5 separate regions of the Homo sapiens genome follow, and all the other regions are linked to region 2. The links are contacts of gene promoters, found by promoter capture Hi-C in human tissues and cell types (Jung and others, 2019). All regions are on one chromosome and are shown on one strand. The core of a region is centred on a gene start or on the middle of the fragment in contact, and the rest is flanking DNA. Distances in the headings are between cores, read along the strand shown. Region 1 overlaps DCLK1 (doublecortin like kinase 1). Region 2 holds the start of CCDC169 (coiled-coil domain containing 169). Region 3 overlaps LOC102723490 (a long non-coding RNA gene). Region 4 overlaps DCLK1 (doublecortin like kinase 1). Region 5 overlaps LOC102723490 (a long non-coding RNA gene).

Region 1 (5,317 bases), core at 200-2,699, 330 kb after region 2:
CCAGTCTCAGAAAGGGGGGTTTCTCTGTCCCTGCTCCAGGTTCATCCTCACTCCTCTGTGCTCTGACCTCCTCCAGGACCATGAGCCAGCCCCTGCTCCCTCTTCCTCACATCTTCAGTTTTCTGCCATCTTCTCCATCCTTAACCTGTCTGCAGGATCAGGTTCCCCGTTCCTTGACCCTGCCTGTCCTTCCAGCAGCTGAGCTCTCTCTTTTTTGCCTTTTCTCATTGGAGCTTTTGAAGGAAAAGCCTACATTCTGTTCTCTTCTTTTTGTCATTCATTCATTTATTCATTCATTTGTTGAGCACCTTCTTTTTGCCAGCACTGGGCTAGGCATTTGGAATCTAAAGATGTGTATTCATAGTCCCAAGACCAGAGAAGAAAACAGATCATTGTAATATAATGAGGTGTGTGGCATGCCTTGTTAGAGAGGAGCCCAGTGGGCCCTATAGGAGGACTTAGGCACATCTGGCCCAATCAAGGCATAGACCGAGGTGCGAGGTGCAGGGGAGAGCTTCCCAGAAGAGGGCCCTGCTCTGAGTCCTGAAAATTAGATGGGCCATGAGCAAGGGGAGGTCTTCCCAGGAGGGGCAAAAGCCTATAAGCAGGAGGCCTGGGATCCTCCAAGTGGGTGGTATTTTCTTTCCTCCCCTTTGCTCCTCAGCTCACTGACCTCTGCATGTGCCTCGCCATTGAAAGGATTTCATGGGGGTTCCACTGGACCCCCACTAAGTGACCTGGAGAACGCAGTGTGTTCTTTATCTAATGGACCACCTCCCCTCCTTCTGCCTCTCCTCCCTTAGCCCCACCCTCACCTGCCATCCTCATTCCTTTCTCCATCTTTCTTTCTCTGTCTTCGTGGAAGCTCCTCTGCTGTGGGCCCCAGAATGTACTGGGTGCTGACTCAGGCAAGTGGGTTATTAGTGATGTCAGCAAAGGACAGGAGGAAGAGCAGGCATGGGGATGTGGGAATAATAATAATGCATTTGTACAGCATGAGGACTGGGAGTTTTGTGACTGGTGAGATGCAGTGGACAGAGGAGATGAGAGAGAAAGGTCAGGACTGCACCAGGAGGCTGCGTGTCATCAGGATACAGGATACAGGGTGTGCTTGAGCCATGATGGTCTATGGGATGGGGCCTCCCTTTTCCTCATTTCTTACATCAAATTAGGTTCAAAGGTCCTTTGTTTTTCCACTCTAGCCATCTTTTGAGTCCACCTCACTGCAGTATTCATCATGCTTCCTTCCCACTCTGTCTCAGTGCTGCCCCCCACCCCATCTCCTTGCTACCTCTCTAACATGCCACTTGCTCCTTGTCACTTCTCTCTGTGTGGCAACCTCTGTTGACTCCACATATCAATGCAGAATACCTCCGGAGCTTTCAGGAATGTTTGTAATCAGACTCCCCATCTTAAATATTTATCATAAATTGATAAGCAAATAGTTATTGGATACTATGTGTGTAGCTCTGAGGTAGTGAGCTTCTCTGTTTGTATGTCTCTTTCTCTACACACACATGAGCTGAGCACTTAGTAAGCAGTCAAGATCTCATGTCAAGGCTGAGGCAGGAGGATTGCTTGAGCCCAAGAGGTCAAAGCTGCAGTGAGCTATGATTGCATAGCGACACCCCATCTTAAAAAAAAAATAAAGGCTACCTGTCAAATGGTTGATTAAGAATCTACATGAGGAAAGAACTTGCTGAAAGATGTTTGAGAGCCACAGAAAGGACCTCAGAGGAAGGAGGAGGAGAGAAATGTCTAGGTGGTAAATAGGACCAGTTGGAGGTATGCTGGTGCTGAGCCACGGAAATGGTTGAGCTGTGGGACAAGGATAGGTATCCAAGTCTGTGGTCACCAATCAATGAGTGTGAATTTTAAGTCAGCAGTTGGAAAAGGAGAAGCTCCTGGGAGTGCAGTTAATGAAGAATTGGAAGGATTTAGTCTAGACGTAGAAAGGAAGTCCAAGATAGGATTATTAGCTGGTAGAAGACAGGAATTATTTGTAACTTGCTCCCTGTCCTTGTGCAAACAACAACAACAATAAAAACAACCGAGGTCCAGGGATGGGATTTCATCCCAGAGGTGCGTTAGCAGCTCCAGGGCCCAGCATTAACAGGGAGAGTGCCTTTACTATGGAATTTTTTTTTTTTTTTTGAGATGGAGTTTCACTCTTGTTGCCCAGGCTGGAGTGCAGTGGCACAATCTTGGCTCACTGCAACATCTGCCTCCCAGGTTCAAGAGATTCTTCTGCTTCAGTCTCCCACATTGCTGAGATTACAGGCATCCATCACCATGCCTGGCTAATTTTTGTATTTTCAGTAGAGACAGGTTTTCACCATGTTGGCCAGGCTGGTCTCGAACTCCCGACCTCAGGTGATCCACTCGCCTCAGCCTCCCAAAGTGCTGGGATTACAAGCGTGAGCCACTGCACCTGGCCTACTGTGGACTTTTGATGAAAGCACGCATCTTCCTGTCTTCTTGTATCTCATCATTTCTCAGGGGAGTGTCATCAAGCTCTAAGTCTTAGCTTCGGTGTCATGTCCTTCAACCTAAAATGGGAACTAGCATGCATGTGTTGTTCCAAATGGCAGAGCTCTTGTGCGGGGTCCAGAGAAAGCCCTTTTAATTCTTTTCTTCTTTTTCAGTGCTTCAGTTACATTGAAGCCAATCAATCATTCTCTGCCTACTTCATTGGCAAAAATTATTCAAGAAAATGGTATCCTGATAACAGACTACCCTGACATAGCACAGTCACTTGTGGAAGAGTGGAAATCTTATAACTTCAGTTGGTTGTTTGAGCTATACAGTGCTAAAGAGCTGGGTTTAACTCACTTTTCTTTTTAACAGAACTGAGTGTATTCCTGGGGCATCTGCTCTTGCCTGTCAAGTATGTTACCCTAACAAATTTGTAGCTTGTTTCTCTGTTACTCCATGGGCCCTTTGCTGCTTCCATGGCCCTGGCTGTTCATAGGTAGCCCAGTCTCATCTCTGTTCTGCCACTGCCCCGTGTGCTAACTGAGGCTGGTGATTAACATTTAGGGCACTGAAATGAGGCTACTCTTTCTGCTTTTGACCTCACCAATTCTCCCCACAAGATATCTGTGAAATTAATTGTCTTAGTTCATTTTATGCTGCTATAACAGAATACCCGAGGCTGAGTAATTTATAAAGAATAGAAATTTGTGTATCATAGTTCTGGAGGTTGAGAAGTCCAAGATCAAGGTGGCTGCAGGTTAGGTGTCTGGTAAGGGTCCAGTTTCCACTCCCAGGATGGCACCTTAAAGGCTGCATCCTCCAGAAGGAGGAACACTATTCTTCACATGGCAGAAGAGCAAAGAGCCGAGAAAGAGAGCCCACCGCCAATAGTCCTTTTATGAATGCATTAAACACACCCATGAGGGTTGAACCATCACGGCCTAATCACCTCTTAGAGGCCCCACCTCCCAATATTGATACATTGGTGATTAAATTTCAACATGAGTTTTGGAGGGGACAAACATTCAAACAGTAGGATTAACCATTTTTATTCTTTTGGCAAAATATCAGAAGCGGGATTGGCTAGAAAAATCCTACCATTCAAAAAATGCTAATATCATTAGGCCTGATACATTAAAGCAAAGTGAATGGTCTCAAATGTGGGGAAGTGGCACTTCTGATATTGCTTTTCACAACTAATTTCTGGATGGAGCCACGAATGGAAAACAATTCTTTAATTGTTAGGAAGATTAGCAAAACCTAGGAAAGCTAGGCAGCTTTGAAAAGAAAAAGTGTGAGGGTCTCGGTCCCTTAATAGAAAGGAGAAAGAGACCTTTAGATTGTGAGAGAGACCTCAAACAATGTCATAGATCATTTGGCTGCTATAACAAAATACCATAGACTGAGTGGCTTATAAAAAACAGAAATTTATTTCTCACAGTTCTGGAGGCTGGGAAGTCCAAGATCAAGATATCTTGGTGAGGAATCATTTCCTGGATCACAGGTAGTATCTTCTTGCTGTGGAAGGGGAAAGGCAGCCTTCTGGGGCCTCTTTTATAAGGTCACTAATCCCATTCATGAGGGCTTCACTGTCATGCCTAATCACATCCCAAAGGTGCCACTTCTCAATACTATTACATCGGGGGTTAGGATTCAACATACACATTCTAGGGGGAACACAAGCATTTATCTCATAGCAAACAACCAAGTCACCACTGATTTTGCCCCTTTGACAACTGAGTCAGTGTGTGTTGGGTGGAGGGCCAGCGTTTCTTAGGGAAAGAGGAACCCTGATAGGGAAACATGCCATCTCTTGTGAGCACACTGGACAAGTTTCCCAGGGCTGCCTTAATAAAGTATCACAAACTTGGCTTAAAACAACAGAAATGTATTATCTCCCAGTTCTTGAGGCCAGAAGTTCATAATCAAGGTGTCAGTAGAGTTGTGTTTCCTCCCAAGGCCCTAGAGGAGAATTCTTCCTTGTCTCTTCCAGCTTCTGGTGGCTCCAAGTATCCTTGGCTTGTGGCTACCTCACTTCAATCTCTACCTCCATGTTCACATGGCTTTCTCCTCTCTATCTTCTCTTCTGTCTCTTATAAGGACATTTGTCACTGGATTTAGGGCCAACCTATTAATCTAGGATGATCTTACCTCAAGATCCTTAACTTTTTCCAAATAAGGTCACATCTGCAGGTACTGGGGGTTAGGACTTGGATGTATCTTTGTGGCAGCCACCATTCAACCCATTACATACCAGTGGAGTCAGGACTTCAGACACTCACATTATATGTCCTAACTGTTGGTTCAAAAACTATGCTCATTATAGTTGCAGGAGAAGTGAAAATTCCCTGAGACACTGTACCCTTGTTACATATGGTGGTAATTGCCCTGATTTTTATCTTCTTTTAACATGTAGCATTTTACACCAGACCCAGGGAAATTTGCTGGAGAGGTTGTGCTTCGTTTTGAACTGTAGATGAGCATTTTGTTTCCTTGTTGGTTGGCTGATTGGTTAGGACGTATTTGGGAGAATGCCATGGGTTGGGAGGTCGGTACAGTCCTGAGAAAAACTCTTTCTTCAGTTTGTGCTCAAAGGCCATTGTTTGTAGAAATGTCCTCTATGCTGGGACTGGGTAAGGTTTTTTCTTCTTGTTTTGTTCTTTCATTTTTTTTTTCTCTTAGAAAGTAAGCCTGAGAATCTATGATCTGCTGAGAGAATTACTTGTAAATCAGAAACTTGGTGTGTCAGTACCCAATCTCGCAGCCCTCCTTTGTGAGAGAATAATTGCAGCTGCCCCTTGTAATTGAATTTCAGAGAAATTCCAATAGATCAACAGTCAGG
Region 2 (4,683 bases), core at 1,765-4,264:
TTTTTCCGACTCCTAAATCAAAATCCTTTGTGTACCTGATGCCCTGTGAATTCAGAGGTTTTCCATTCTGGTGGGTGGTAGCAGGTATTATTCCTACCTCTGTAAACTGTAAGGATTTCCCCTCTAATCCTTTGTGATGGTTCTTTCCCCAGCCTGAGTACTTGCCCCACCATGTGTGTGCATTCATCAGTATTCTGCTGCAGAGTGTACCTTGTGGCAGGCCAGGTCTCATTAACACAGGCCTCCATAACAACTGTTTCAGTACTGACTTGAGTGGCTAAGTTAAATACTAAAAGCTAAAAAAACCAAAGCCCTTATACAAAGGCTGGAATGTAATAAAAACCCACCAAGAACTAGGTCTCAAAGCATGACAAAAAAAAAAAAAAAAAAAAAGAAGGAATTCTTAGCTGGACCCATTTAGGATTAAACAAGTTTTTTGGGGTTCTGAAGGAATCCCCAAACCTCCCTGATTTAGCAGGAGACAGGGGTAATCACCCTAGCACCTGGACCCATTTAGATTAAGTTTACTGAGGCTCCAGAGGAAGGTCTTCAGGACTCAAGACCTTAGTTGTAGATTATAAAAAGTTAACCACTTAATGTCTATAGATGAATGCACACTTACACATAGACATATAGCTTAGAAGGTCTGGAAAACTGTAATTTTGAGTTGGTCTGGTTATAGTTTCCAGGGCTTCTGCCTGTAACTGGTTCCAGAAATAAAAACTCTCTTCCTCCCCAGTTCATCTACATGTTCTTACTGGGTCACAAGAAATAGCAACCCAACCCTCAGTTTGGTCTGGGAACACCCTGTGCAGCTCTCCCCTCCAATATCTGCCCTGCAAAGTCTAGCTGCCTTGTTCTCTCTAGACTCTTAGAGAAACTCCGTTTCCTCAACTTAGGGCAACCACCAGCCTCTGCCTGTTTTCTCCCTTTCTGCTTTGTACCCTGGCAGGCCCAGGCCAATTTGGGAGCTTGCCTCATTTGTGTCTCATCTCTTGGTGATCGTTTTCCCTTATTGCCTGATGTTCAATGTTCTTTTTTTGTTCCTCTTAGTTTTTTAGTTGTTTCAGGCAGGAGGGTAAATTCAGGTCCTTTATCTCTGCCAGAAACACAAATCTGTGGTTTCTGTAGTTGTTGACAAACCTGTTTTCTGCTTGCCTTTGCTCCTAATTTCCCACAGTGAGATCCTGCTAACAGATCTTTTTAAGAAATCCTCTGGGTCGGGTGCAGTGGCTCATGCCTATAATCCCAGCACTTTGGGAGGCAGAGGTGGGTGGATCACGAGGTCAGGAGTTCAAGACCAGCCTGAGCAATATGGTGAAACCCCATCTCTACTAAAAATACACAAAAAAATTAAGCCAGGCATGGTGGTGCGTGCCTGTAGTCCCAGCTACTTTGGGAGGCTGAGGCAGGAGAATTGCTTTAACACAGGAGTGGAGTTTGCAGTAAACTGAGATTGTGCCACTGCACTCCAGCCTGGGAGACAGATGAGACTCCGTCTCAAAAAAGAAATCCTCTGTATATTTGGATTTGTCAACAGATAATCTAGTCCTTTTCACTTCATTCTATTCTGTTTACTTGGTTGTGAGTTGCCCTTTCAGACTTAACAGCTAGACAAAATTTTGATAAGCATACCTCCTATATTAGGGTAATTCACAGAAACAGAACCAATAGGGAGTGTGTGTATAAAAGATTTATTATAAGGAATTTGCCCGTACAATTATGAAGGCTGAGAAGTCTCAGGATCTGCAGTTGACAAGCTGGAGATGCAAGCAAACTGATGTGCAGTCCCAGTCTGAGCCCAAGGCTGGAAAAGTGTTCCAGCTCAAGCTGTTTGGCTGTAGGAGCTCCCTCTTACTCCTGGGAGGTCAGCCTTTTTGTTCTATTCTGTCTTCGGTCGATTGGCTGAGGCCCACCCACATTGGGGAAGACAATGTACTATACTCAGTCTACCAATTGAAATGTTAATCTCATCCAGAAACTCAATTGGAAAACTATGTATTCACAACACTTCTGACACCAAATTGTGTTTTCCACACCAATTATCCCATTCTCACTAAAACCTTGGTCTCCACAACCCCTTTATTCTCTAAAGACATTCCTAAGTCTTTAGTCAGTAACTTTTCAACCAATTGCCAATCAGAAAATCTTTGAATCTAGCTGTGACCTGGAAGCCACCCCGTCCCCCACCCCTTCCAATTGCCCTGCCTTTCCCGATGGAACCAGTGTATATCTTAACATGCATTTGATTGATGTCCCATGTCTCCCTAAAATGTATAGAACTAAGCTGTACCCTGACCACCTTGGGCACGTGTTCTCAGAATCTCCTGAGGGCTGTCACCCGCCATTGGTCACTCATTTGGCTCAGAATAAATCTCTTCAAATATTTTACAGAGTTTGTCTCTTTTTGTCAAGGAAACACAGATGTATCAAGGGTAGGATGCAAACTTTGTGATTAAAAATATAATGAAATTTCAAGTTGCAGTGAGCAGCTCTGAGGTATGTTCATGAACAGCACACAGATGCAAAACAATAATCTGGAGGGTTAGCAGTCTTCCCGAGTTCAGGAGGTACCTTTTTAAGACCAGTTCCTCCCGCTCCGACACTGCCAAATCAGCGACTCTGGTGCTTGTTCAACTGAAGCAAAGAAGGGCGCAGCTAATCTTGGATCCAGCGTTTCCCTAACAAGGGCTAAGAGTGAAGCCGACTTTGCCGTCCGGGGCAATGTTTAGGAAAGCAACCAAAGCCAGCAGGAGGGAAGAAAAAGGAGAGGGATATTCTTGGCCCCCTGACACTCCGCTGTGTAGCCGGAGCACGTCTAACCCCAGCGTCTTGAGCAAGGAGTGTCCCTGGAGCTGTTATCCAGGGTCGCTCCACCGCACAGAGTAGGCTTCTCCAGTCTCCCCGGCTGCCCTCGCCCCACCCCCTGCCGCCTGCGGGCATCGCTTTATGACGTCACCACGTGCCTCTGCGGGCAGGCGCGGGAGGTGCGACCGGGGGGCGGTTGGGGTTCACCGCCTCGTGCCGTACTGGCTTCTGGGTGGCCCTTAATGTCTTGTGCTCTAAGGTGCTGAGGGGAAAGACGCGGGAGGTCTCTGGCCTGACACTATGAAGGAAGAGAGAAACTACAACTTCGACGGTGTGAGCACCAACCGCCTGAAACAGCAGTTGCTGGAAGAAGTCCGCAAGAAGTGAGTCGGCGGGCGGCGCGGTGTGGGGTCCCGTCCACACCCCCCGAGCCTTCACCTGCAGAGTCTCAGGGCTGAAGCCGCTGAGGGTGCTGTAAGACCGGCGCCGTGATTAACCCCTGGGCACTTCGGTCTGGGTTCCAAAAGTATTCCATGCGAAAGATTCACGTGCCTCTTTGAGTAAGCCTTTGGTATTGTTAAGTAGGCAGCTTTCCGGGTAGGATGTGCTGCCCTTAAGGATCCAATCATATGGCGTGTATTTTGCCCATATACTGTAATGCCAAAAGTTGTGTTTGGTTTTGATGTCTCCATAAATCCAGGTTTTCTGCTTAAAATTCCAAAGATTTTATTTAGTTATACGGGGTTTTTTTTTTCTTTCATCCCTTTAAGGGGAACTTCATAAAATGACATTTAGTAAAACTGTTACTCCTCCTTTATGCTTTTTAAAAACAGTATTCGTACTTCGTGTTAAATTTTTGAAACATTTAAAGTATTTTTTGGACATACTCCCAACTCCATCCACAAGTCCCGTGAGAATTGGACTCTCCTTTGTGCCTAGATAGGGTTCTGGGTTTTCCTCTATTGTAGCTCCAGTCACAGTATTTTAATTGCCTGTCTATTTCTTGTTTTGCTACCAAACTACACGCGTTCTGAGGACAGGTTCTGTGTATTCTGAGGAAGTAGAGAATAAGAGCAAGTACTTGAGGACAGTCCTGCAAAAACACAAACTCCATCTCTTGTCACTCAGTAACTATGCAATCTTAGACAAGTTAATTAACCTCTTTAATCCTCAGTTTTCTCAGCTCTAAGACTGGTATACAAATAGTCATCTCATACCTCCTGCTGTTGTTCCCAGGTTGGAATGAAATGCACTATAAAGAACTTAGCATTGGCTTGTGATACGCATCCAGTGGAACTTTGCTGCCGCTATTGCTATTTTTCTGTTCACTGTTCACTGAATTCTTCCGTATTTAATACAATGCCTTGAACATAATAGGCACTCAAAAATATTTATTGAATAAATGGCCCTGTCATATGATAATGTTCTATTTACTGATGCCCTAAATAGCTAACCTTTTAAATTAGTGTTTGTTTTTTTCTCTTTGTTTCAGTTTGTCAGCTGTTATGTATTGCCCTAGGTATGCCTTTCTGTAATAATGTGCAGTGCCTAATTTGCTTGGTTCTGAAAAACCAGGTAACTAACTTCTTTAGGATGATATTTAAGTTAAAAATAAAGGATTTCCAAGGGCCGGGCCTGGTGGCTCACGCCTGTAATCCCAGCACTTTGGGAGGCCGAGGCTGGGCGGATCACAAGGTTAGGAGTTCGAGACCAGCCTGGCCAATATGGTGAAACCCTGTCTCTTCTAAAAATACAAAAAAATTAGCAGGGCTTGGTGGCGCATGCCTGTAATCCCAGCTATTCAGGAGGCTGAGGCAGGAGAATTGCTTGAACCCGGGAGGCGGAGGTTGCAGTGAGCCGAGTTTGCACCACTGC
Region 3 (5,365 bases), core at 729-3,228, 460 kb before region 2:
TCCTCTTCCTTCCTCTTCCAATATCTGCTCCCTCTTCCATTTAAGCTTTGCCCTCTTCTTTTCTTCCTGGTGGGCTTAAGAAGCTTGAGGTGTTCAACCTTGGCTTTCCTATTTCCTATTGCAGCTGTTGGAAGGTAGCTAGAGAAGAGCTCATCACAGCAGTATAAGGACAATCTCTGCTCTTGTACGCTCAGGTAATTTTGTTTGTTTGTTTTTGTTTTGAGATAACCTCGCTCTGTTGCCCAGGCTGGAATGCAGTGGTGTGATCTTGGCTCACTGCAACCTCTGCTTCCCAGTTTCAAGCGATTCTCATGCCTCAGCCTCCCAAGTAGGTGGGATTACAGGTGTGTACCACCAGGCCCAGCTAATTTTTTAATTTTTATTTTTAGTAGAGACAGGGTTTTGCCATGTTGGCCAGGCTGGTCTTGAACTCCTGACCTCAAGTGATCCACCCACCTTGGCCTCCCAAAGTACTGAGATTGCAGGCATGAGTCACGGCACCCAGCCAGCCCAGGTAATTTTAGTACAAATTCCAGAGGACAGAAATGAAGAGATTAGTATAAACTTAAACTCTGCTACTAACTAGCCATATGCCAAGCAAATCATTCCATTGAAAGCGAGTTTATCTCTGTCACTAAACAATTGTGTGGCCTGCTTTTGGTAATTCCCCTTTGAAATAAATTTAATGGCTGCCTAACTTCATTCATTTATTTATCCATTGAACAAGTACTTATAAAATAACTATTATGTCCCAGGCGTGGTTGAAAAGTTCTGGGGATGCAAAAATGAGTAAAAGCAATATAGTTCTGCCTCCAGGAAGTTACTTTCTAGAGAGGAGACTTTAAAATATTGGCAAACAAGGGTTTTCCCATTCATTCCCATTACATTTTATCTCCTCGCTGTGGTTTTAAATTTTGTATCTTAGCAAGCACAGCTGCTGACATTGACTTTTTAAAAGTAAATGAATTAATATTAATATAAGAATTTACTTTTGGAATACCTTCTTTTTTTTAAGGAAGAATTCCTATAACTTCTATATCTGGAGATTAGCATTCTTGCTTTACATATGAAATGGTATTTTATTTTGTTTAAACATTGTGATATCACAGATATCTGTGTGTTTAAACAGTGGAACATCACAGAGTCTGAGAACAGTCTTTTGGTGTTTCTTTTTCTTTGTAGATTTGTCATCACACATATTAAATATTATCCATCTTCTAGGTAATGCTTAATAAAAGGAGATGATTGTCTTTGACATTTGCCCTGGCATAGAATAATATTTTAAGCTGAAATCATGACAAGGTTTTACAGTTCATTATATTTTACAAGAACTATCCCATATTGTATGTATCACTGTCTATAACATTTAATTCCAAAGATTTCAATTCAAATAAGATCCTAAACATAGAGACTTGGGGAAGAAAACCAAACAGGCAAAAAAGAGTTTGATTATTGTAATGCATCATAATTAGGCTTTGGATTGTGGCTCAGCAAATCCAAAGACACTTCCTTGAGCCTGACCATCACTCCTGAGTGGTGTGACACACAGGGACAGACCCTCCTTCTCTTCTACCCCCAAATGTCAAGGGAGGGTCATATGAATGTAGCTCCTTTTGCGTTCTTTGGAAAGGTGGCATGGGTTTTCCTGCTGCCTTCTCTGAAGTGGGCTTATCAGTTGGCAGCAGTCCCATCTTGCATTTGCAAATTTGGCAGCTGCTGTGAAGTCATACAATGTCATGATTGTTTAGTGACAGAACTTGAACCCCCTCTCACCAGAATGACTTGCTTGGCACATGGCTAATTAGTAGCAGAGTTTAAACTTAGACTAATCTCTTTATTTCTGTCCTTGGAATTTGTACTAAAATTACTTGAGCTTATAAGAGCAGAGTATAGACTGTCCATTATATTGCTGTCTTTTCTACAGAGAAGACAGAATTAGGACAGAATTAGGAAAGCTTGAGAAGAACAGGATAGATGTTAAGAAAAATCTCCAGGTTCTAGCAGAATATCTGGTTGGTGTCCATCTTCCCTGATATCCATCAGTTGTTTGTACAAAGTCATCAAAAGGACCAGCATTTGATATATTTTTACAGATGGGTCCAGACTCACTGAAATTCCATATGTGGAAGATTTAAAAACTGGTTTGAAACATTTATTTTCAACTTTTAAGAAGCAATCATATAGGAGAGTTGTTACAGGTGGCATACATTATTTTCAGTTGTATGATCATACAATGATGGAAATAATTCCACACATCCATTTTTCAAAATATTCTCCCCATAGTTTGATTCTTCCAACAAGCAGTTATTTTCTCATTCATTATTAAAATGGTGGCTTTACCCTGAAGGAAGTGATTAAGGGTGTTTCTATATTTGAAAACATCTTCCAAACACTTGTCATCACAGACAAAGACAGCACATTTGGAGCATGATGTATTGTATAATAAATATATATAATGCCTTTATACTAAGCAAATATTCAGCATACATTGCCACAAATAGCCAAAAAGACCTGTGTCATTCAAAAGATTATTCTCTATTCTGTTGCAAAGTATTGTAAAAGAGTCTACTATATTTTTTTGGCTGGGTGTGGTGGCTCCCACCTGTAATCCCAGCACTTTGGGAGGCTGAGATGGGCAAATCCCTTGAGGTCAGGTGGTCGAGACCAGCCTGGTCAACATGGTGAAACCCCATTTCTACTAAAAATCCAAAAATTAGCTGAGTGTGGTAGTGTGTGCCTGTAATCCCAGCTACTCAGGAGGCTGAGGCAGAACAATCACTTGAACCCGGGAGGAGGAGGTCACAGTGAGCAGAGATACTGCCACTGCACTCCAGCCTGGGCAACAGAGCCAGAGTCCATCTAAATAAATAAATAAATAAAAAAAGAGCCTACCATATATTTTAAACTGATGTATAGTAGAGTACATAGTTTTGGGGTACTTGTGATTATTTAATGCATTCATGTAATTTGTAAAGATCACATCAGTCTCATTGCTTCTCAAAGAGGGGAGGTACAAGTCAGTCAGTCAGTCACAGAGTCTCCTCAAGATAGTTACTAGTTGTGATTTCCTAAAATACTTAAGGCAAGATAGTGAAATAAGCTACAATTTCTGCATTGGGACTGGTCCTGAGACTCTAATTGGCATTTATACCTTCTCTCCTCTATTACCCATTCTGTATTTCCTGCATTAGACAACTCTCAGGTGGTCTAATTTGCTTTCCTGGTGCAGTGATTCAGAACTTCAAGTGGTCTGATGCTTTATTTGTCCTGTATATTTTAGGCTGTGATTGCTGCATTTTTCCATTCACCATTATCAGGGGGCATGGAAGTACTGAGAGAGACCCGGTGATTCCCCTAGGTGGTTTCAGTCGTCATCCTCTGTGACTCCATTCTGTGGTGGTAACACCAACTCCTTAATTATTTCAATAAAACAGCAAATCATTTCCTTGCCAGTTGAACTACTATCATGAAAGCCCAAAGTGAACAGGTGGTAGTCACAAGTTCAAGTTCAATGCAACTCTTAGATACACTGGCAGACGTGTTCTTTCCCTGAGAACCAGGACCTCTAATTGGGCAGGATCTTAGATTGTAGGGAGGAGAAACACAATTGCTGTAAATGGGCCCTTGTGTTTGATGGTGAGGTGGGGTCACTTCTACTTCCCTCGCTTCCTGGACCTAATATTCTTAGTATTGGAGGTAAAGTACTATATTATCAGCTGTTGATTTAGTCCATATGTCACTCCTCAAAGACAACAAAGGTGTCAGACGCTGCAAGACGTCAGACCCACAGCTGAGCCTTCAACAGGCTGTTCATCATTTTATGGGCTGACTGTTTCCAGATGATGGCATACATGGTATTATTAGGGAGTTTCCTGGTCTGAAGTCCATTTTTGCAGCACCTTTGCTGTAGAAAATTGCACCGCTGAAGGGAACACTGTGTGGAAAACATGTTGAATGATAAAGCATTCTATAAGTGCTTTGGCGGGGGTGCTAATAGAGACACTGCAGCTAGGAAAGGCAATCCAACATTCAGAGTATGTATCAATTTCAGAATGAATTAATGCTCACTGTCCGCTCCAGTGTGTAAGTGGCCTGATATAATTGACTTGCCACTAGGTAGGTAGTTGGCAGATACCTCAAAGAATGGTGTGGGGTTGAGGGCACAGCTTCAGTCCCTTCAGTTGGCACACTGGCCACTGCTAAGTGGCCATAATGCCAAGAAGCCCTGGTTATTAGGCCCAGGCTGGTCTTCATTCCTTCCATCTTGGCCACTCTGTTCATGGACCCATTGCACAAGCAATGGGCTAGATGAGGAGACCATTCAGGGTCATCTCACCAGAACATCTTTCAGGGTCTCTTACAACTGAGGATATAATACAACAACTGTCAATTTTTAGCACACCAGCATAGTACTCTGTACCTGTGAGCCAGGCTTGCCTTTTCTTCCTCTGTGAGTTGGTCAGCAGAAACCCATGGGTTGAAGGTGAGGCGCTGGTGCAGTAGAAGTAGTTCGTATGCAGTCTGATCAGCAGTTAATGGTAATTTACTCATAATTTTGGACCTGGTCCAGCCCCCTTTTATGTGTGCCAGTTCTGTCATCTGGTGGGTTGCCGCCATGTCTGGCTAACAGTCTGACTTGATGATCTGAAAATATGCAACACCGTAGAGACCATGCTTCCTTCTGCCTGCTCTCAGTGACTGAACAGAGCAGAGATACTAAAGCAGGTCTGTTCCTAAGAGACAGGAGACTTTAGCTTGGGAACTTTCCAATGACCCTGCCAAACTTCCCTTAGAATTGCACCGCAGCCTAAGATGCTTGCACTCACCCTCCCTTCTTTCTTTTTCTCTTTCTCTTTCAATCAGGGGCAGATCTGCATCACGGGCTTGCATGTCCAATTTCACCTTGGCACTTGCTTCTCCGAGGGTCTGGACATGGGGCTTCGTTTGAGTCTGGAAGCAGTGGAGAGGGGCCAGAAGCTCCAGGCCTTGGCTTGGAGATCTCTACAGGTGTGCATGGAGATGTTTGAAGTGCTAATGGCTGAGACAGAGCAAGTGGCAGAGGCCTAGGAGACGGAGGCTGAAAGAGTCTGAGGAGGTACATATGAAATGCCCAATATGGAGAGGTTTCAATGACAGATTGACACTTGCAACTTCAGTCAGATCACTCTGGCTGAAGTAAGATAAATGAACTGGCAGAGAGCAAATATGACAGGGAGCCTAGTTAGGAAATAAATATCAGGCAAGAGACAATAAGCATATGAACTGCAGCAGTGACAATGAAAATAGAGAGAAAGGGACACGTATGGTAGGGGTAGGGTAGTCCTGTAAATTTACAGGACTTAGTGATATCAAGGTCAGTCACTGG
Region 4 (5,118 bases), core at 307-2,806, 300 kb after region 2:
AACATCGAGACAGGCAAGTTCAAAATACTCAGGGAGGGCTGGCAAGCTGGAGACTCAGGAAGAGCTGATGTTGCAGTTCAAATCTGCTAGAATGGCCTCCTGCTTGTGGAGGTCAGCCTTTTGTTCTATTCAAGCTGTCAACCAATAGATGAGGCCCACCTGCATTACAGAGGGCAGTCTGCTTTGCTCAAATTTAGCAATTTAAATGTTAATCTCATCTAAAAACACCCTCAAAGAAATGTGCAGAATAGTGCTTGACTACATACCTGGGCCCCGTGGCCCAGCCAAGTTGACACATAAAATTGACCACCTCAAGTGGGAATGGGCATTGCACATGGTGCTGTTTGCAATACCAGCACACTGAAGCGAATGATGAAGACGGGAGGCCTTAATCTATCTCTCCTTCTTAAAGCACTGATGATTTTATTTACAACTAAAATAGGTTGGCAGGGTGCAGTGGCTTACGCCTAGAATCTTAGCATTTTGGGAGGCCGAGGCGGGTAGATCCCCTGAGGTCAGGAGTTTGCAACCAGCATGACCAACATGGTGAAGCCCCGTCTCTACTAAAAATACAAAAATTAACTGGGCGTGGTGGTGGGCACCTGTAATCCCAGATGCTTGGGAGGCTGAGGCAGGAGAATCACTTGAACCTGGGAGGCGGAGATTGCATAATATTTAACTCCAGCCTGGGCAACAAGAGTGAATGAAACTCCATCTCAAAAAATTAAAAAAAAGAAATAATAAAATTAAAATAGATGAAAATATTGTTGGCCTTAAGTAAAGCCTAATATAGAAGATATTTTAGGAAAACTGTTGTAATCTTATTGCTTATGTTTGTAACATTTCTGCTAGATTTGCATTTATAAGAACAGCCAGGAAACAAAGATTTATGGTAAAAACGTGTGATCTCACGTACGTGGGTTAGTTTATCTTTTTTGAGGTTGTCTCTCACAGCCTGCTGCTAAAAATAAGCAGTCTTCTATTATTTGCTCACCTGTGATTTAGTCAGAAAAGCCAGTGTATTCTAATGAGTTGGGAAGAGGTGAAATTTCCATTCAGAATGGTAATTTTCTGTTAATCATCATTGAAACTGAAGAGCCTCCCAGATTGTTCCTCAACATTTGAATTGGCCTCAGTAAAAATGAAAGAAGACAAAGGAACATTTATATGAAAGTAAAATGTTCTTATTCTTTCTGGTTTTGCTAATAAAACTACCAGATTGGTTTCCTTGTCTTTGTCCTCTGATCTGTTTACATTCCTTTTATTATATTTTGGTGTGGCCCATTAAAAATATTGCCCCATACTAACTAGTATATTGAAAACGGATAGAATTAGATTTCGTAATAAAGTGAACTTAGTTCACTCAAATGTTAAGTCATTTCCTCCACTGAATCCTTGTAGACACAGGCATTTGGATTGTATCTTTACAATATGATATTGGAAAAGATGAGGGAATATTGGTAATTTGAGGTGAAAAAGAAAACTCTTATAATTGAATGTGGATGCTTTGTCTCTTCTTGGAGCAGAGGTTTAAGAAAGAAAAGGAAGAAACTCCACCACTACAAAGCTACCTTGGAGAACACTTAGACAAAAATTTCTCAGAGCATATGCTATTTGGTGAAAATTCACAAATTGCTCTTCATAGCTTTCTGAATTTGTGTCATATCTGCATTTTAAAATTGAATGTGCTGCAGTTCCAACCTGTATGCTTTTGAATGAACCTTAATGATGGGCCATTTCTTATTGCCGTCATCTGTGCCTTTCATTGCTGATTTATGTCAACTTCCTTTAAATGCATTGTGGTATTTAGGCAGTGGATAAGATAGTAATGCCATCGCATGCTGGTTGCTTAATGATGCAATTGCTTGAAAATTTAAAGCCCATAATAGCTTTAGGTCAGGTTCAGAAGTTCATGTTCCATGCCAGACATTTGAAGACTGAATCAGAGCCCGAGCACTGCCAAAATCATGCCACATTTGTCAAGCCTGGCCTTGGGTAAAAGCTGTTGGAAGCCGCCCATTCATCCAAGCCAATCACTGATAATGAAGCTTGAGGGAACATGAAATATCTTTTCTAAAAAGAACAGACAACCTCACCAGTTGGCTGCCTTTTTTTTATTTTTAGTATAATTACCAGGGGCAAACTGTCTTGCAGAATTGCTATCTTATATTAGCTTTGAGTTTGTGTTCTTGAGACCTGATGCAAGGATGTTTTATTAGCTAAGAATATGTGGTTTGAGGTCAGCTGAACATGATTCTTTCAGGTTTTTCTTGTGGGCTGTAATGTGATTGACTATTCTGTGGTGTGGAAGCTTACAGCTAGAAAAGAAACTTCAGGAGAACCACTTTCCTGTTTTCACGCTTATATTTTATCTGACTAATTCGCTTGGCTCCTGCCACAAACATCCATCAGTGAACAGACTTCTGCTACAGGGAAAGTTCTAGAAGAGCTGCCCACCTGGAACACTTCAGTCAAGCCTGAAGCTGGAATTGTAAAGTGTGACTGATTCCAAAATCACCATGCCCCAACCTACTCCTGCTAAATGTTAGATTTTTTTTTTTTTTTGGAAGCTGCATGTTACTTTTCCCCTTTTCTTTTTTTCAAAGGGCTCATAGTATTGGTTCCAGTATCTCAAAAGGATGTTTTGCAGATGAGAGAAAAGTACTTGAAAGAGTCTGAAACGCTGGAAGGACTAGAGATGTTAACTGGTCACTTTCCCTCACTCCTGCCTTTCATATTCCACACTCAGGTCTTTAAAGACTTTGGCTTTGAAGAGAGGAAATGAAATATGGGAGCCTCAAGGCTGATACTTATCCTAGCTTTTTTTTTTTTTTCTCATGAGTGTTCAGAGAAAGGAATTGAATTTGAATTCTCTGAAGCACCATATGATAGGTAGTTCTGATTAAGTTGTGGCTAGATGTCTTTGATGATGTTATTACCATCATCAAAAAAATGTTAACTAATTCCTCATGTATGTAAATCTTTGTAATTCAGAACACACTCACTTTACCTGATTCTCACAACCACTTGGTAATGAAGGCACGGCAGGTACTGGTTTCATCCTCATCCCCCAATGTGTAGATGCGGAAACTGAGGATGAGAGGTAAACCTTTCCCCAAGTTTCACAGATAGTAAGTGGCAAGTCTAAGACAAATCATGCTACGTCCAGTGCTTTTCCTGTATTTTATGCTGCCTCCTGCCTTCTGTCAGCAGATTTTGGTGGCTGTTGGAGGAAAGAAAATTATAAGAAAAATTATAAGAAAAGATCCTTGCTCTTGATGAGTTTAAGGTCTACCTGGAGAGACAGAACTGAGGCATGAAAGAGACAAAGAAGAATGCAAGGTAGGCTGTGCTAAGTGTTCAGTCAGTAGTTTTGAGGTTACTTGTTGCTGGAGCGTCATGTAGGAGAGGTGATTGATCGAAGGCAGGGACAGCAGAGAAAGCTTTCGGGAGGAAGTGAGAGTTGAGTTGGTCTTGAAAGGAGAGTAGGTCTTAGATAAAAGAGAGCAGAGCAGCTTGAGCAACTGTATCACAGAAGCAGATGCATATGACAGTGCGTAGGAGGCTGAGCAAGCAATTGTGCTGGACCCACATATTACATCAGGGAGACATTGCAGGCAAGGCTGCAGAAACAGCAAAAGGACCAGGATGTGAAAATCTTGAATGCCTGAATTTGGATTTAATCCATTAAATAAGGAGAAGATATCCAGGGCTTCAGAGCAGTAGCTTCATGTGTATAATCGATTAGAGACTGGAGATCACTGATGGGGGAGTAGTATATCAGTGCAGTTCATAAAGGTGGTAGAATTAAAATAAAGGAATGAATGACCAGGTCACACAAAGGAAAAAGGATCAGGATTTTCAGGGGAAAGAGGAGAAATAGAGTGATCATAAAATGTATTGTCCAACCTAGGACATTTTCCAAGACAAATGCTACACTGGTCAGGACAGTGGGAAAACAGGCACAAACTGGGACTTTCCTAGGCAAATTGAACATATGATCATACTGGTCAACAATGATGCTGGGGTTTTGAGACTGGGGCATTTGTGGTCATTGATAGAAGGAAAATCAGCAAGGCCAGTGATCTTGGATTTTAAGCTTCAAGATGACTGCAGTAAGTCAGGAGTAGATTTCCAGTGCAAAGTTAGAAATGCACAAAACTTGTCTGTATAACCCTTTGTTTCACCTTTCACTCCTCTTTTAAGCCCCCAACATTAAAAAAAAAAAAAGCACTTTCTTTTGAAGGAAGCAAACAAAGTAAGGAATGGCAGCCACATCCTAGTACTGTCAACATGTTGCATTGTAATTCTCCATTTTGAAACGTGAGCCTGGATGTACTGTCAGGAACTCCTCATCTTTGTGAGACTATGGCTTGCAAAAGCAAATCCTTGCATGTTTTCCCACATCCGAGGGGATCATTTGTCTCTGAAGTGGATTCAGACTACTTTGCGTTTCAAAACAGAATTGAACGTCTGTCAACCTGTTAAAAATTGAGATTTTCAGAAGGAAGAAGTGCGAACTAGAAGGCATGAGTGTGGGAACCCCTATAATCTATGATTTCATTATAGATCAAAAAGAATTTGTTCATTAATTATCAGTTAGCTTGGGACTTTTCAGAGAGGCAATTAAACCAAAATCTACTGAGCCAGGGTAATCATAAAACATAATTTTTATAATTAAATATGTCATTTAGGCTTTTATTTGACATTTTAGGTGATTTATGTGGCACTTTCCAGGCATTAGAAAAAGCTTGATCAATGCCGTGTATAAGATCTTCCTAGCATTACCCCCAAATAGATGAGTAACTTGTCATATGAGGTTAGAACAGGGTAGGCAGTTTCAAGCTCACAAAATGATCTGGAATCAGACCTGGATTTGCTAATGGGGGGAAGAGAAGAATCTTTTCCTCTTCCATCCTAGGTTCACAGCTGAGGCCCCTATAACAAGAGATAGTTTAATGAGAGAAAAGCATGCAAATTTACTTAATACAAGTTGTTGTTGTTGTTTGTTTGAGATAAGGTCTGTCTGTTGCCCAGGTTCTAGTGCAGTGGTATGATCACAGCTCACTGCAGCCTCGACCTCTTAGGCTCAAGTGATCCTCCCAGCTCAGCCTCTCA
Region 5 (4,757 bases), core at 534-3,033, 490 kb before region 2:
AAAAGGATACGTACACAGCGTAACAGTAAAATAAATACAGATGGAAAAAGTCAGGATCAAGGAAAAAAAGATCACAGAAGACAAGAGTCCACACTGCTGATGTGAATCAGATGCAAATTTGGTTGTGAGCCAAATGATGGGTTACATAGTTCTCATTAATGGATCGCACATAGCACATCAATTATTTGGAGAAGGGGGAACACAGTTTTCCATTATCAAATTGTTTCTTATTTGTTGTTTACTGTTATTACGTTATTATTGCTTATGATGATGATGATGATGAATAATCTAATCATAATAAGATTGGTAACTCAGTTACCAAAATCTGTTGGTTCTATGTTGCTTTATTCTCTCTAGACAGACTGCACGTGTTTTTCTGCAGTCCATAGTTAATAAGTTGGGCCACATCCTGTTCTACCTGGATTACTGCAACAGTCTCCAGTTAGTCCCCCTCCTGTTTCCTCTTCACATTGCTGCCAGAGCCATCTTTCTAAAATGGAAATCAAATCTATTACTTTCCTGCTCCAAACCTTTCATTTATGCCCCATTTTCATTTGGAAAAATGTCCACATTTCTTAGCATGACTTAAAGGCTCTTTGTGATAGGTTTCTGCTGCCCTCCCCAGCCTCAGTCCCCCTGGAGTGAGCATTCACTATTTTGGAGTTGCCTAGCAGCCGTTCTTCTCCTATGGGTAACAGCATTTCAGTTTCCTTCCTGTGGCTCCTATGGACTGTGAGCTGTCTCTGTGGGGCCATCAGGGACAGTCTTGCCTTCCTCTGGCCAGCAACAGGCCTGAGCTTGTTCAATCTGGCTCTCTCTTCAGGGACTTTGGGTCTCAGAAGGAATAACACACAGGCAGAAACATGGTTAGGGCTCATTATCTCGGAGGCAGTGCCTGACAAGCTTATTACATCTCCTGTGTCACTGTGTCTGTCTCGTTCTGAATCTAACCTTCCTGCCCTTTAACTGCATCCGTGAACTTCTGACATTTTTCCCATAAACTGATTTCTATTTTTCTCAGCCAGAGTGGGCTTCTGCTGTTGTCACCAGAATATCCCCCATTCTCCTGGCCAACTCCGACTGTTCTTTCAGGCCTTAGCTTACATATAATTTTTATGCTGCCTTGTGCAGGAGGCAGATTTCTGCCTTGACTTCTATTACTTTCTTCCCTGACTTCCCAGGCTTCCTGTGGTTAAACAGAGGAGCGTACCCATGTTACTTACACGTAATTATTCATTTTCTTTACCCTGTGTTCCCTTATGTTCAATGGTTTTGTTTTTACATTGAGTTTTGTGATTATATTTACAGGAGTTATTTATATGTAAGCTTCTATACTTAATTTATTTTGGCTTTCCTACTTTTTAGTTCTTTATTTTGAATTCCTTCAGTCAGCCACGTATCCATGAGTAGTTTCCTTTCTCAGTCTTTGCCTTCACACGTGAACACCACTTTGGCTGGGAATGAAATTCTTGATTATGCTTCCCCTCTGAAAGTCTTTACATATTTTTCATTATCTTTAGGAACTCAGTGTTGTAAAGAAGTCTGAGGAAGCAGGCCAAGTGTGGTGGCTCCTGCCTATAATTGGAGCACATTGGGAGGCTGAGGCAGGAGGATTGCTTGAGCTCAGGAGTTCGAGGCCAGCCTGGGCAACATAGCAAGACCCTGTCTCTACAAAAAAAAAAAATGAAAAAAATTAGCCGGGTGTGATGATGCACGCGTGTAGTCCAAGTTACTCAGGAAGCTGAGGTGGGAGGATTGCTTGAACACAGGAAGTCAAGGCTGGAGTGAGCTGTGATTGCACCACTGCACTCCAGCCTGGGTGACAGGGCAAGACCCTGTCTCTAAAAAAAAAAAGAGATTTTACCCCTTTTTAAGAAAGTTGTTTTTCCTCCTCCCTATTTGGATATTTTCAGAAATGTATAAATATTCTTGAAATTTTAACTTTTGACAAGGTATGTCTAGTATGAATATTATTTAGATTAATTTAGAATTTGCTTGGAATATAATAAAACATTTTTCCAAATTCACTGTTTTTTTGGCATGTTAAAATGTCTACTATTATAGCTCCAGTACCAGTCAGGATATGATCAGAGACGTAAAACCAGTAGGAATATCATTTATTTTAGGGAATTAAATATGGAAGCCAGTCTTCAAGACAGCTCACCCAATGATCCCTACCTCCGTGTATCTACACCCTGTGTGAACCCCTACCACAATGTAGCGCTCTTGGTCTGTGTGACCAATAGAAGTAATCAAAGGGATAATATACTCACTCCAGGAGGAGCCAGCCACAATGCTGTGGGGACACTCAAGCAAGAGAGATGAGTAACTGTAGACCTCTGCCAATTGCCTGCACTAAATTTTAGTAACATTAACTCCAGCCGCTATTAAACTTTTAGATCAGGAATCAGCAAACTATGACCCTCTCTTGGCCAGTCAGTCTACTGTTTTTGTAAAGAAAGCTTGTTGGAGCATGGACAAGACCATTTCTTTACATATTGCCTGTGGCTGCTCTCAAACTATAAAGGGAGTTGAATGATTGCAACAGAGACTGTATGGCCCACAAAGCCTGAAATATTTGCTATCTGACCTTTATATAGAAAGTTTGCAGACCCCCTGTTAGCATCTTTTTTTTTTTTTTTTCTTGAGATGGAGTCTTGCTCTGTCGCCCAGGCTGGAGTGCATTGGTGCGATCTTGGCTCACTGCAACCTCTGCCTCCTGGGTTGAAGAGATTCTCCTGCTTCAGCCTCCTGAGTAGCTGGGATTACAGGCACGTGCCATCATGCCTGGCTAATTTTTGTATTTTTAGTAGAGATGGGGTTTTGCCATGTTGGTCAGGCTGGTCTCAAACTCCTGACCTCAGGTGATCCACCTGCCTCGGCCTCCCAAAGTGCTGGGATTACAGGCTTGAGCCACCGCTCCTGGCCCCTGCTAGCATTTTGATTGCAACCTCATGAAAGGCCATGAGTTAGAATCATTTAGTTAATCCACTGTCAAATTGCTGACCTACAGAAACTGTGTGAAATAATAAATGTTTATGTTGTTTTGAAGTAATTTGTTGTGCAACCATAGATAGCAAATACGTTGACCTTATATAATTTTGGGAGCTGGTTAGGCAGTCTATGTGAGTCTGTATTGTTTCTGTATCTGGTGCTGGAGCCTGAAATCTACAGGGCAGGTAATTGGAAAGGGAAGATGGATGCGAATTGAAACCTGTAGCCCACAGGGAAGGAGTTGAGCATGCACTGGTCTCTCACCTCTTCCAAACCTGCAACCTTGGTGATGAGGGTGTCCCAAAGGAGGTATCAGTGCCCTTTGCCAGGGAGCTAACCATACACCTGGCTCAGAGGTTGCAGAAGCTGAAGAAGGATCCAGTAGGAGCTGGATGCTGGTGGCCCAGCTGCTGCCCCCACCAACTAGGTGAGACAATGTGCCTGAGCTGCCACAGCACCTTGTTCCCTGACACAACCTTTTGAGCATAAAAAGATGGCTGCAAATTCACTTCTGCCTTGGAAATCTGTAGCAAACTGTCTCTTCTTGCCCATGCTAACATGAAATTAGGAAGGGAAGGGAATCTAGTTCTAGCTTATCTATCCACCACTTTAAGGATTTCATATCCTTAAAGGGTGAAGCACTTTTATTTAATTAGCATCATTGTTAAGTGATTTATCCTTCTGCCATCCTCACCAAAAATTATAAATTGCTACCAATAGGTCTGACCCAGTCTGCAGTTCTTCAAGGGCTTCAAAGAGCGTAAGACACAGTCCATCTCCTCAGTGGCTCTAACATGACCATGTGAGGGCCTTATGTGTTAAGAGAATGAAATGTTTTCAATATGGCTAGGCTGCTTCTATGCTTACAGAACGAAGAAAAAAACAATAGAGGCAGCTGTGTGCCAAGATTCTTGGTCCAAATCCTGCAGAACCCCAGGTATCTAAGCAAAGATCATGGGATCTTGGGATCTGAGTTGCACGAGGTAATGGAATGTTACAGCAATGACTTTTAAATAGTTCATGCCTTCCTTTATCCACACACTGGGATAGTCTCCTCCTTCATGGACTCTGACCTTGGGCACATAACAGCTATGCCCAGTGGGACAAGAGCAAACGTAACACAATTAGATTTGAAAAGTGCTTGTGAATTAGCTTTTTATACTGTTATGAAAATATTCCCAGACTATAATGTTAAGCAACAGTAAATGAACAAGGTGAAGATAAGTATGCACAGTACACTGCCAACTATGAAACAATGATAGCAAATACTATATTAATTCATATATGCATACACATGTTGGAAAAGATGCACAAGTAAATTTAAAAATTCAAATATTGCTCATATCATCCCTTCTGGCACCTCATATTCTCTTTTTAAAAGTATACCTTTTGGAAGTTTTTAGTAAGAGTAAGCTGAAAACTTTCTGGGTTATCTGAGGATGTCTTTGTTTTGTTCCCATTCTTAAAAGATGATCTAGCTGGTTATATGTTTTAGATTAGCAATTATTTTCTTTCAGAACTTTGAGGATATTATTCTATTGTGTTTTGGATTCTTAAAATTACTGTTGAGAAGTCAGTTGTCAAACTATCTGTTGTTTTTTTTTGTAAGTAACTTGTTTTTTTTCTCTCTGAACATTTAAGTATTCAGAGTCTTCTTTGGTGTTCTGCAGTTCTCCTATGAAATGTCTGCATAGATATTTCTTCAATTTGTCTCAGCTAAGAATTATTGTGCTTTCTGAACCTAAGGATTTCTATTTTTCATC

Evidence for each region. The method cuts DNA at HindIII sites, captures the fragments that hold promoters and counts their contacts. A contact is called where the count stands out against the background at its distance.
Region 1: a contact is called between a fragment that was not itself captured here and the fragment with the promoter of CCDC169 in region 2, in 1 of the 25 tissues and cell types used here (dorsolateral prefrontal cortex).
Region 3: a contact is called between a fragment that was not itself captured here and the fragment with the promoter of CCDC169 in region 2, in 1 of the 25 tissues and cell types used here (mesenchymal stem cells).
Region 4: a contact is called between a fragment that was not itself captured here and the fragment with the promoter of CCDC169 in region 2, in 2 of the 25 tissues and cell types used here (adrenal gland and bladder).
Region 5: a contact is called between a fragment that was not itself captured here and the fragment with the promoter of CCDC169 in region 2, in 2 of the 25 tissues and cell types used here (H1 embryonic stem cells and spleen).

What each region holds. Positions count from the first base shown.
Region 1 is chr13:35,968,601-35,973,917 of GRCh38, reverse strand. The region is part of intron 3 of DCLK1 (doublecortin like kinase 1); the gene reads left to right. Among named protein-coding and RNA genes, the nearest start is that of DCLK1, 160 kb to the left of the region's middle. The HindIII fragment of the contact is 6,810 bases long and covers 1-4,854 here.
Region 2 is chr13:36,296,145-36,300,827 of GRCh38, reverse strand. It overlaps CCDC169 (coiled-coil domain containing 169), which reads left to right and starts at 3,014. Exons shown (of 8, transcript NM_001144981.3): 1 at 3,014-3,191. The coding sequence starts at 3,109. CCDC169-SOHLH2 (CCDC169-SOHLH2 readthrough) reads left to right here and starts at 3,014. Exons shown (of 16, transcript NM_001198910.2): 1 at 3,014-3,191. RefSeq lists enhancers at 1,463-2,425, 2,426-3,387. The HindIII fragment of the contact is 10,512 bases long and covers 1-4,683 here.
Region 3 is chr13:36,754,886-36,760,250 of GRCh38, reverse strand. LOC102723490 (a long non-coding RNA gene) reads left to right here. Exons shown (of 7, transcript XR_001749825.2): 2 at 4,864-5,095. Among named protein-coding and RNA genes, the nearest start is that of RFXAP, 62 kb to the left of the region's middle. The HindIII fragment of the contact is 3,827 bases long and covers 65-3,891 here.
Region 4 is chr13:35,991,556-35,996,673 of GRCh38, reverse strand. The region is part of intron 3 of DCLK1 (doublecortin like kinase 1); the gene reads left to right. Among named protein-coding and RNA genes, the nearest start is that of DCLK1, 140 kb to the left of the region's middle. RefSeq lists an enhancer at 2,691-3,192. The HindIII fragment of the contact is 4,431 bases long and covers 1-3,771 here.
Region 5 is chr13:36,783,376-36,788,132 of GRCh38, reverse strand. The region is part of intron 1 of LOC102723490 (a long non-coding RNA gene); the gene reads left to right. Among named protein-coding and RNA genes, the nearest start is that of RFXAP, 33 kb to the left of the region's middle. The HindIII fragment of the contact is 4,285 bases long and covers 1-3,925 here.